Regions from separate parts of the Homo sapiens genome. Here all the other regions are linked to region 1. The links are contacts of gene promoters, found by promoter capture Hi-C in blood cells and fetal thymus (Javierre and others, 2016). All regions are on one chromosome and are shown on one strand. Each heading gives the region's core, a stretch centred on a gene start or on the middle of the fragment in contact. The rest is flanking DNA. Distances are from core to core; before and after follow the strand shown. Region 1 holds the start of TKTL2 (transketolase like 2). Region 2 overlaps SMIM31 (small integral membrane protein 31). Region 3 has its middle 27 kb from the start of SMIM31.

Region 1 (3,643 bases), core at 515-3,014:
CTGGAGACAGCTGCACAAACAGCTTCTCCAATGCCACCTTCCCTGTAGTGATCCTCCACTGTGATAACTCGGCCGCCTGTGGCTTTTGCACTGGAGATGATGGTGGCGGCATCCAGGGGTTTAATGGTAAATGGGTCGATGACACGGACAGAAATACCTTGTTGAGAAAGATGGTCAGCAGCTTCTAAGGCTTCATGGAGAGTAACTCCAGCTCCAATTACTGTGACTTTATCATTGACACCGTGGCGGACCACCTTGGCCTGGCCAATCTCAAAATTTTCTTGTGGGGTATAAATAACTGCAGTTTCTGGTTGGCTGGTTCGAATGAAGCACATTCCCTTGGTATTGGCGGCTAGATAAATAGCATGCTCTGTCGAGATGGCATCACTTGGATAGAAAACAGTACAATTGGGAATGCTTCGGAACATGGCTAGATCCTCCAGGGCCATCTGGGAGACTCCATCTTCTCCAGTGGATACCCCACAGTGGGAACCAATAAGGTTGATATTGGCTTGAGAAATGGCTCCCATTCGGAGCTGATCGAATGCTCTAGTAAAAAAGGCAGCAAAAGCACCAGCAAAAGCAATGGTTCGACCACGTGTAGCACAGCCTAGTGCCACACTTACCATGTTTTGTTCAGCAATAATACACTCTATGAAACGCTCAGGGTGTTCTTTCCTGAATATCTCAGAAAAGGTGGAGTTCATCGTGTCACCACTCAGAACAATAACTCTTTCATTTGCACGGCCCAGTTTAGCCAGAGCCAAACCATATGTTTTCTGAGTAGCTATCTTGTCACCAACTTTGTAAGCAGGTGGGGAGGTCATTTTTATATCTGTGATGCTTATTTGAGGTGAGTCTTCCACAGGCGATTTTGGTATGAGATTCTCATTGGTCTGTATCTGACTCTCAATTAATTTGACAATTGCATCTGCTCTTTCTTTTGGCACTGGCTTTCCATGCCAATTTTCTGCATCCTCAATATTTGGAATACCCCGACCTTTGAAGGTCTTGGCAACTATAGCAGTAGGCTTGTTCTTCACTTGACTTGCTTGCCAAAATGCTTGGCACAAGGCCTCCACATCATGGCCATCCACTAAGTAAGTATTCCATCCAAAGGCTTCACAGCAATTCTGGTAGATGTCTGCGCCATGCTCAAGGGGTGCAGGGCCACTTTGTCCCAAGCGGTTCACGTCGAAGACCGCCACGAGATTGTCCAAGTTGTAGTGGGAGGCAAAAGCAAAAGCCTCCCACACAGAGCCTTCTGAGGATTCGCCATCTCCCATAAGGCAGAACACCCGGTAGCTGGCCTTGTCAAGGTACTTGCCAGTATAAGCCATTCCACATGCAGTACCTAATCCCTGACCTAGGGACCCTGTTGCCACGTCAACAAACGGCAATCGGGGGGTAGGGTGTCTCTCCAAGTCGCTGTGAAGTTTCCTCAGGTTCAGCAAGTCAGATTCACTGATGTCACCCACCTCCACCCAAGCAGCATAGAGGATAGGAGCAGCATGTCCCCTGGAGAGGATGAACCGGTCGTTGTCCGGGTGTTCTGGGTCTGTCTGTTTATACTTCATCGTGTGGAAGAAGAGGACAGACACGACCTCCGCTGCACTGCAGCACGACGTGAGCTGGCCAGAACCAGAGGCACACGTGGCCCTGATGGAATGGATCCGCAGGCGGTTGGCTGTGTCCCGCAGCACCTGCACGGTCTTCACGTCGGGCTTGGCGTCGTTGGCCATCATCTCTCTTTTGTCGGTTTGGCAAAGCAAACGGCGCCGCAGCACCCCCACAACCCACCGCGGCAGTGCTCTCACGTGACCGCCCCGCCCTCGCCTCCCCTCTGCCTGAAGGCCTGAGCTCAGCCACCAGCCGGGGCGCCCACAACGGAGCTTCCCGCGAGACTGAGGAAACGGAAACGTTGGAGTAGCCTGCACCCTCTGATGTGCACCGTTCCCTCTCCCTGTCCACGCCCAGCTGAATGGATTTTTAGTATTTACTTTGTCACGTGCATGTTCAACATTAGGAAGCATAATTAAATTTTTTACCTTTCCCTGTGTTATAAATTCAAGACTAGACATTTTTCTGTGTATTATAGGAAGCGATTTGTCAGGCTGTGCTTTTTTAATGCATTAACACTATATCCGAGTCATCACTCTTTCATATCAGAACATTAATAGAAAGGATACAAAGTCACTTTCAATCTGACCAGTATGGCAATGCTATCTCAACAGAGACTTTCTCAGAGCAACCAAATATCTGAATCTCAGACTTATAGAAAGAAATGCAATGACTAATTTGACCAAAATTTATAGGAAGAACAAATCTGAAACCACCCAATTGCAGAATAGAATTGCAACTCCAGTGTGCCGTAAAGTACTATTTCTGTGTTGAAATAATTAGAAGGCCAGTAGGCTGAGGTAGCTTCAGCTCCATGAGTTCCTACCTAAGGAAAGGAAACCCAAATCAGTGTAAATGATAAAAAGGAAATTTAAGCTTAATCAATCAGAAACTGCCAGCTAACTTCTAACTGGGGACTTTCCACTGGGATGACCCAAATAAGTCTAGTACTCCACTTTAACCAATCAAATATCTTTCCTTTGCTTCCAAATTCACCCTATAAAAGCCTTCTCCTTGGCTCCTTTATCAGGAGCTACCAGATTCATGAATCACTGAATGGTCAAATAAATGCTTTAATATTTTAATGTGCCTCAGTTTATCTTTTAATGACTATTACTACAAATCATTTTTAAGACAAAGTTACTTACTTTAAAAAACTAAATTTGTGGGCCGGGTGCTGTGGCTCACACCTGTAATCCCAGCACTTTGGGAGGCCGAGGCAGGCGGATCACAAGGTCAGGAGTTCGAGACCATCCTGGCTAACACGGTGAAACCCCGTGTCTACTAAAAATACAAAAAAATTAGCTGGGCGTGGTGATGGGCACCTGTAGTCCCAGCTACTCGGGAGGCTGAGGCAGGAGAATGGCGTGAACCTGGGAGGTGGAGCTTGCAGTGAGCCCAGATTGTGCCACTGCACTCCAGCCTGGGAGACAGAGCGAGACTCCGTCTAAAACAAAAAAAACTAAATTTGTGCCATTGAACTCTTCTAGCAGGCCAAGGTTATGGTTTGTCATCAATAAAACAACAATTAAAAAAAACACAATGATAATATATCATACCTTCCCATATTGCGATGTTAAACCTCTTGGTTTCTTGAGCAATAATTCTTACCTTAACTTCACGTTAAAATTAGGGCACATAAGAAACACAATGCCTGGTTCCATCCCAGAAAAATAGAATTTGAATTTCTGGACCTGGAGTCTGGGAAGCTATGTTTCTAAAATACATCCATTGATTATAATGGGTAGTCAAGGTTAATAACATAATCTGGAGATAGTCTGAGACCAGTGGTTCTCAACATTAGTTGTAGTTTAGAATTATCTGGGAAGTTTTAAAAACATCTCATGTCCATGCTGCACTCCAGACCAATTATATCAGAATTTCTAGGCAATAGATCTAGGCGTCAGTAATTTTAAAATCTTCCCCAGGCAATTTCAATGTTCAGTCAGGGTTGTAAACAACTAACTCAGGGGGTGTTGTTACTCTTTATACTTATTATCTCTTGCATTATATCTCAGAAAAA
Region 2 (3,643 bases), core at 774-3,273, 1.3 Mb after region 1:
AAAGAAAAAAACTTTTTAAAGAATAAATCTGCAATAGTGAATTAAACTTCAGAATTTCTAGTGACACAGAAAAGGGGATGAATCTCAATGACTGTATGATTGAGCATTCACCAAATGCCAGACACTGTTCAAAGTTCTTTATTTCACATGTGATCCTCCCTAAAACTCTGAAAATCAGTCTCCTAAGCTTACAGATTAAGCAAATTCAACAATCACAGTACATTTAGCTTGTTCTTATGGAAAAGATAACCTTGTTTCAGGCAATGTTTTTGCCAAAGATTTAAAAGAAGGCATAGAATACCTGCTTATTAACCTAGTGGGTGTGTGTATATATGAAAAAATCAAGTTGTACACCCTAACTGTATACAATTTTTATTTGCCAATTATACCTCAATAAAATTGGGAGGAAAAAACCTTGTGGTTGACATAAAGCCAAAGGAATCTTCAAACATTCTGTGAGATAAGAAAAATAACGGTAGATAGGAAGTGCTATATCTATCTTTAGTTTCCAAAATTCTTCAACATATTATTTATAATAGTATATTTATAATCACAAAAATTAATAACTGTAATTTTTAAATCATCCTTTAGAAACTCAGAAAGTGATATTAAATAAATTGAAAACTAACAATTGTTGAATTTTCCCTAAGCTGTTTTGGTCAAATAGCTGTCCAGCCTGAATTCCTCTAGTGATGAGGAACTCACTATCATTGGAGGCATGGATTGCCCTATATGTTTTTTTAAATGAGGCCTGACCGGCAACCAGACCATTGGCAGACCATTGAGTTAAAATGTGGTGGGTGTGGCAGGGCACAGTAGCTCACACCTGTAACCTCAGCACTTTGGGAGGCCGAGGCGGGCAGATCATGAGGTCAAGAGATCAAGACCATCCTGGCCAACATGGTGAAATCCTGTCTCTACTAAAAATACAAAAATTAGCTGAGCGTGGTGGCGTGTGCCTGTAGTCCCAGCTACTCGGGAGGCTGAGGCAGGAGAATTGCTCGAACCTGGGAGGCGGAGGTTGCAGTGAGCCAAGATCGCGCCACTGCACTACAGCCTGGCGACAGAGCGAGACTCCATCTCAAAAAAAAAAAAAGAAAAAAATAGAAAAAAATGTGGTGGGTGCTGTTGTTGCCTTACTGGAATCCAGTCAACCTAATTCAAAATATTGCCTTCAGCTTGGTTACTCCACTTTAGAGGGATTTGGAAGTAAAGGAGAGAAATCAAAAGGGACAAAGGACACAGAATTATGTCATAAGAAGAATATTTGTCTAGACAAAGGAAAGAAAGCCCAGGCAACATGACAAATTCCTGGTCTTCAAATATTTGAGGATCCCTCTCATAAAAGGAGAACTTTTTAGTTCTGTATTTAGGAATCACATGGTAATAGTTAAAAAGAACAGAATTTTAGCTGATATAGAGTTTTCTAAAGAGCAGGGTTATCCAGAGATTAAACAGATTGCCTCCAATGACAGTGAGTTCCTCATCACTAGAGGAATTCAGGCTGGCCATCTATTTCACCAAAACAGTTTAGGGAAAATTCAATCATTGTATGGTGTCTGGACAAGGTGATTTTTGATTTTCTTTCCAAACCTGAAATTTTATTTGGAGGAAAGTTCTCAAGGACAAGATGGCTTTTTGTTCAGAGTTTGACCAGAAGAAGACTTGAGACATGGAGTTGCCCAAAGAAACAGAGGAAGGCAACATGATAGAGGATCCATCCAAAAAGAAAGATTGAGAAAATCAAAGAGACATGTAGCAGGTTGAAATGTCAAGTAGGAACAGCATTGACAGGAGCTGGGACACATCATTTGTCATTCAGCAAGCGTGATTTGCCAAGTACTTGGTGTCAGGGAGTAAATAAGAAAAACAGTTTTCTGCCTGTATGAGCCTTCAAGGTGAATACATAATTCAGAAACCATATGCAGAGACTAATGAGCGTTGTTGGCATTTCACAGATGGACGGGATAATTCAAGGCTTTGTTTAGTAGACAGGATTTACACCATGACAGAACCACCCTCCTACAGATAAAACGGAAAAAAGTGCCACTGGTTTCAGATTATTTAAATTAGATAAGCATTCAATGCAGCAGGTGAGTCTTGTTCAGAATTTTTAAAGAAGGAAGGGATACTTTGTCTCAGAAAAAAAAAAAAAAAAAAGGCAGATAAATCCAGGAAGCAACAGAAGTGGCATGCACGTTGGTTAGTAGCCTTTAGACTTTTTCCACAAGGCCTTTGAAGGCAAGGGGGGAGTGGGCACTGCAGTATCTCACAGATTTTTTTCAGCCCATAGTTTTCTAATGTAGCAGGCTATAAGAATTCAAAACACTAAATTCCCACTGCCCAGAAAAGTGCATTTACTTCCTGTAAATAAGCCCTTTATTTTTACTCTGGCAGATTTTTCTTTAGATGAAGGCAGTCATTTTACCTAGTCCCCTTGGCCCTTGATGCATGCACACAGCATCTACAATAGGAAGGAGACTCAATAAGAAGAGCATGTTCCATGCTGTCCCCGAGCAATCATAACAGCACTCAAGGGAGCCGCGAGAGAATGAACGGATGGTGCACAAAGAGAGCAGTGAGCTCTGTCAGCAGCCATGAGACAGAAAAATAAAGTAACAAAGGAAAAGAAACACATCTCCCCCGTGAGGGCAATAACAGCAGCAAGAAAAACCATCAATCCCAACCATGCTGCCTGTTTTATGGAAACCTTAAAGCCATTTTCAAAATATACTTCTTGTCCTCTGGGTGGGATTTTCTCAAGTAATAGAGTGCTTGATGCCGCTGAGATTTCCAAATACATCTTCAATCCAGAGTTTCCATTCACAGCTGTGAAATTCAGAGTTTTGCATCAACTTGCCTTCTTCGGTGCTGCTTGCATCCACTCGTTTATGGTCACTCAGTGAATACTTATGGGAAAATGTACTATATGCCCGTCATTTTTCTAAGCCCTATAGGTACGGAGATAAACAAAGCAGACTGCTTTCATAGAACTTTAATGGGGAAAGACAGACAAACAATAACAAAAAAATGTAGCCAGGCACGGTGGCTCACGTCTGTAATCCCAGCACTTTGGGAGGCTGAGGCAGGCGGATCACGAGGTCAGGAAATTGAGATCATCCTGGCCAACATGGTGAAACCCCATCTCTACTAAAAATACAAAAAATTAGCCAGGCGTGGTGGCACACACCTGTAGTCCCAGCTACTCGGGGGACTGAGGCAGGAGAATCGCTTGAACCCGGGAAGCGGAGGTTGTAGTGAGCTGAGATCGTGCCACTGCACTCCAGCCTGGTGACAGAGTGAGACTCCATCTCAAAAAAAAAAAAAAGAAGAAAAATGCAATGGAGAATAGCTGTGATGAAAATAAAACTGCTGAGAACTTGGCTTAGATTAGAAGTCAAGAAATGCCTCTGTGGGGAGGTGGTGCTTGAACTGAAGAGAAGACACAGAGAAAGTAGACAATGAGAATGTAGAGGAGATTCTCAGGCAGGAGGAAGACAGGATGAGCTTAGCAGGGCAAGGAACACAAGCAAGGTCAGTGCAGGAGCATGCAAACTGTCACACATGCTACCATCAGACGGGATGTGGGGTAGGTGATGGGGGCCTAGTAGGGAAGAACTGGGAGTTTGAATTTTACTCCAAG
Region 3 (3,643 bases), core at 779-3,278, 1.3 Mb after region 1:
GAATCAATAAAAAGGCCAAGTCCAGGTAAACCAATGACAAATTTGGAACTAAAAAGTATCTGCCTGCCTAAAACAAGCATTTGATAAACTGTCGTAAGGGAATGAATAAGATAAGAAAGAGACAGTGAAGAAATCAAGATTGGGACCTCATGTGAAAATGGAGGGTGTTCAAAGACACCTCAGGGTGCATAGAATCTAGAGAAAGCCTGTGTCTATCATTCTGGAGCACCTCTTTTCCAGGAGGAGATGAAACTCTGAAACTATTGAAAATAAAAGAAACTTCTGATTTTAGTATGTTCTTAGCCCAAGAGGGCTGTGCAAAAAGGAAACACACGTAGACCATGGAAAAAAAATGCTGGGAACAAAGTTATTCCATGTAGACATGCCTGGCATCAGGCAAGAGGTCACAATTTCCATAGATGCTAAAAACTCACTTCCAGAACTTAGTTGAGTAGAAGCAAATAGTACATTATTAAATGCGTACACTGCATTTGAATGTGGCTCATTGCATGGTGGCTCATGCCTATGATCCCAGCACTTTGGGAGGCCAAGGCCAGTGGATCACTTGAGCCTAGGAGTTCAAGTCCAGCCTGGCCGACATGACGAAACCCGTCTCTACTAAAATACAAAAGTTAGCCAGGTGTAGTGGTACATGCCTGTAATCCCAGCTGATTGGGAGTCTGAGGCATGAGAATCACTTGAACCTGGGAAGCAGAGGTTGCAGTAACCGAGGTTGCACCACTGTACTCCAGCCTGGGCAACAGAGCAAGACTCTGTCTCAACAACAACATCAACAACAAAACCAACGCATTGTATTTGAAGAAGAGAAGAAATTTCATCAAAATGCAAAATTATGGATTGTGATTGTTGAAAAGTGAAGTTAGGTAGCTATGACTGCAATGCAGACAGAGAGCACAGTAAGAATAGCTGGTCCTATGCAATAGGCACACCTTGAATTGCCTGCAACCAAAAGGCAAGAAAAACAAACAGAAGATACAACAGATTGAGTGACTGAGCTATTGCTTATTTCAGAATTCTTAATAATGTGTGGCAAAGTGGTATCTTGCTGCTGTAATCTTTTGTTTTGTTGTGTTGTTGAATCTGGCATTTCAGGATCAACATCAGGTTCTTAAAAGCCAAAGTCAGTTCACCTTTTTGTGCCTCCCATCGTTCTTTTGAGTTATGTAAGATAGATTATTCATTTCTCCTCGCTGATAGAACCATAGTTGTGTCCTATACTTGGAGAAGCTGGAAAATAGCTCACCAACATAATTGCAGTATTTCTTAGTATAATATTATGTTAGGCAGAAAAACATTAAGGAACATTTGTTTTTGTCACATCTCTATTATCTCATAATTAGTAAGGCAAGATGAAATGTCAATTTTTAATCCTTTTTTATGGATTTGTATTCCTATAATATATGAAAATCTCTGAGGAAGAGATGAAGCTCTGCATTATTTTTTCTATGTGGGAGGGTTTTTATAGGAGGATTAATTCTGAGGTAGTATAGTAGGTGGTTAAAGGGAAATACATGCACTTATTAACAAATCAGAGTTTGTTTACAACTAATTGAATTTAAAAATTATATCAATACTTATATCGCTTGCCAAGCAGTATGATTTAAGAGTATAGGAAACAAATAAGAGTACAAAGGTATCAATTTGGTTAAAATTTACCATTTTATAAGACTAAGAAATAATGTAGAAAAAAACTCTTTCCTAATTAAGTGTCTTTCGGTGGTGTTATGGCAAAACTGTAACTTTTTACAGCCTAACCTCTTGTAAAGCCTTTAATTAGTTACATGTAAAAAAAATTATCTACCTCTGGCTTATTGGATGGAAAACTATATCTATAAAATTGTAGACTTAAAGGTTCATGGAAATACATTAGGGTATCAAAAAGTGAAATGTATGAACTTTATGACAACTATGATATATTCAATAAAATAGCTTAATTGTTTTTTAAAAAAGGATTTTAATAGGGTTTGAGGTAAAACTCATGCCACTGCTAACTGATGAAGGTCGTATTCCATAAAAACCCTCCATCCTTTTTCTTATTGATGGATGGCTCCAAAAAATTCTGTCCCTCCACTTTCACTCATGTATTGTGTCCTCTGTGAGCAGCCATATTTGTTAAAGCTGAAATGTCATGATGATGGATCACAACCAGACCCTCTATTTGGGGCTAGATACCTGAGCCAATCTGTCATTATGTGCAAATTATCTTCTTGCTGGATCTGGAGAGATAAATAAGATGCAATTGCACATGGTTCTATATCCTGTTTTAACTAAACGAACGTATGGCCCAATAAGAATAGGGGTCAGACATCATGGGACTCAATGGAGCCTGTGATTCTGGAAGTAAGCCAGCTAAGGCCCCTCTGAGCCTGCTCCTGCTTTCCTCTGGATTTTTGTATGCACAATGATACCTAAAAAACACTGAACACCGTTTGACTTAAATTCTATTTCATATTTGTTCACGTCATGCTTGAACTCTTAGCCTGGTCCTTATCTCTTCAAATTTGCCCGCATCTAACTCCAAAGATGATTCTTTGAGTTCATTTCAGACAATACCATTTTAGTCTCCAGCAGGAGCCCTGGGGAAACTCACCATGTCTAATTTATCTTCAGTGAATATCAAATCATATTCACCACATAAAAGTTAGGATGGCTTTATCAGTTTTATTAAAGCTGTAAATTTTCCTTTTAAAACCTGCCAAAGCCTATGCTTCTAGAATCCTCTAACAACAAATTAACTTTTTTTCCCTTCTTTCTCTGCTTAGTCCTTCAGCCAGTCTGACCAATGGGATACTCCCCATAGAGCATGTGTGAAAATTGTCCTGTAATTCAAGACAGCAGAGTGGTATTTCTGTTTTTCTACCTGGATTCACACTTGGCGCAGTGCTGTAGCTCAGAAAGAAAAACTGCACATCTAAGAACCACAGTTCCAGGCAAGGTGTTGGAGGCTTTGGTCTTACAGACATGAAAAAGCTGCTTTGAACCGCTTGACGTTTTCTACTCAGGAACCCCAAACTTGTGCCTACTGTTCTCGCTCCTTGTTAAGGCCTCCTTCTAAAGCCTCTGAGTAACATGATCTCAGCCCTCCCGAGCCTAGAGCCTAGATTCCCCCATTGCCTCACTCCTCCCACTGCCCTCACTATGCCTTGTGGGAGCCTCTCCAGGGGACACTATCTCCTGAATGCAGAATGTACCTTCACATCTTTCAACTTTTGCTCTGAATATCCCATCCGACTACATTCTCTTTGTCTTCTTTATCATCTGTTGAAATCCTATAGATCTTTTAGGGACCAGGCTGAATTCACAGGCTTCATTCTCCTCCAATGCATCTAATCACCTTTCCTCCTTTCTCCATACCTTTTAACACTTTGCATCCCTTTTCCCTGTCTATCTCTCTCTCTACTTTAAATGCTCATGATCATCCTGATCCTCCCAGCACCTGTCTCTGTCTTTCCAATACTAGGCATAGCAAACAAATTGCTTAAAAATCTCACGTTAGGCTGGGCACGGTGGCTCATGCCTATAATACAAGCACTTTGAAAGCCAAGGCAGGTGGATCATCTGAGGTCAGGAGTTCGAGACCAGCCTGATCAACATGGTGAAATCCTGTCTCTACTAAATACAA

What was found. Contacts are between HindIII fragments. The CHiCAGO score rates a contact against its expected background, and 5 or more counts as called.
Region 2: a fragment that was not itself captured here is called in contact with the fragment with the promoter of TKTL2 in region 1 in 6 of 17 cell types (endothelial precursors, total CD8 T cells, naive B cells and 3 more); the score reaches 10.5 in endothelial precursors.
Region 3: a fragment that was not itself captured here is called in contact with the fragment with the promoter of TKTL2 in region 1 in 9 of 17 cell types (endothelial precursors, naive CD4 T cells, naive CD8 T cells and 6 more); the score reaches 10.6 in endothelial precursors.

The regions. Positions count from the first base shown.
Region 1 is chr4:163,471,990-163,475,632 of GRCh38, forward strand. It overlaps TKTL2 (transketolase like 2), which reads right to left and starts at 1,765. Exons shown (of 1, transcript NM_032136.5): 1 at 1-1,765. The coding sequence starts at 1,745. The HindIII fragment of the contact is 3,282 bases long and covers 1-2,494 here.
Region 2 is chr4:164,763,483-164,767,125 of GRCh38, forward strand. The region is part of intron 1 of SMIM31 (small integral membrane protein 31); the gene reads left to right. Among named protein-coding and RNA genes, the nearest start is that of SMIM31, 11 kb to the left of the region's middle. The HindIII fragment of the contact is 3,677 bases long and covers 186-3,643 here.
Region 3 is chr4:164,725,700-164,729,342 of GRCh38, forward strand. It overlaps the pseudogene CHORDC1P3. Among named protein-coding and RNA genes, the nearest start is that of SMIM31, 27 kb to the right of the region's middle. RefSeq lists an enhancer at 1,936-2,105. The HindIII fragment of the contact is 5,791 bases long and covers 1-3,643 here.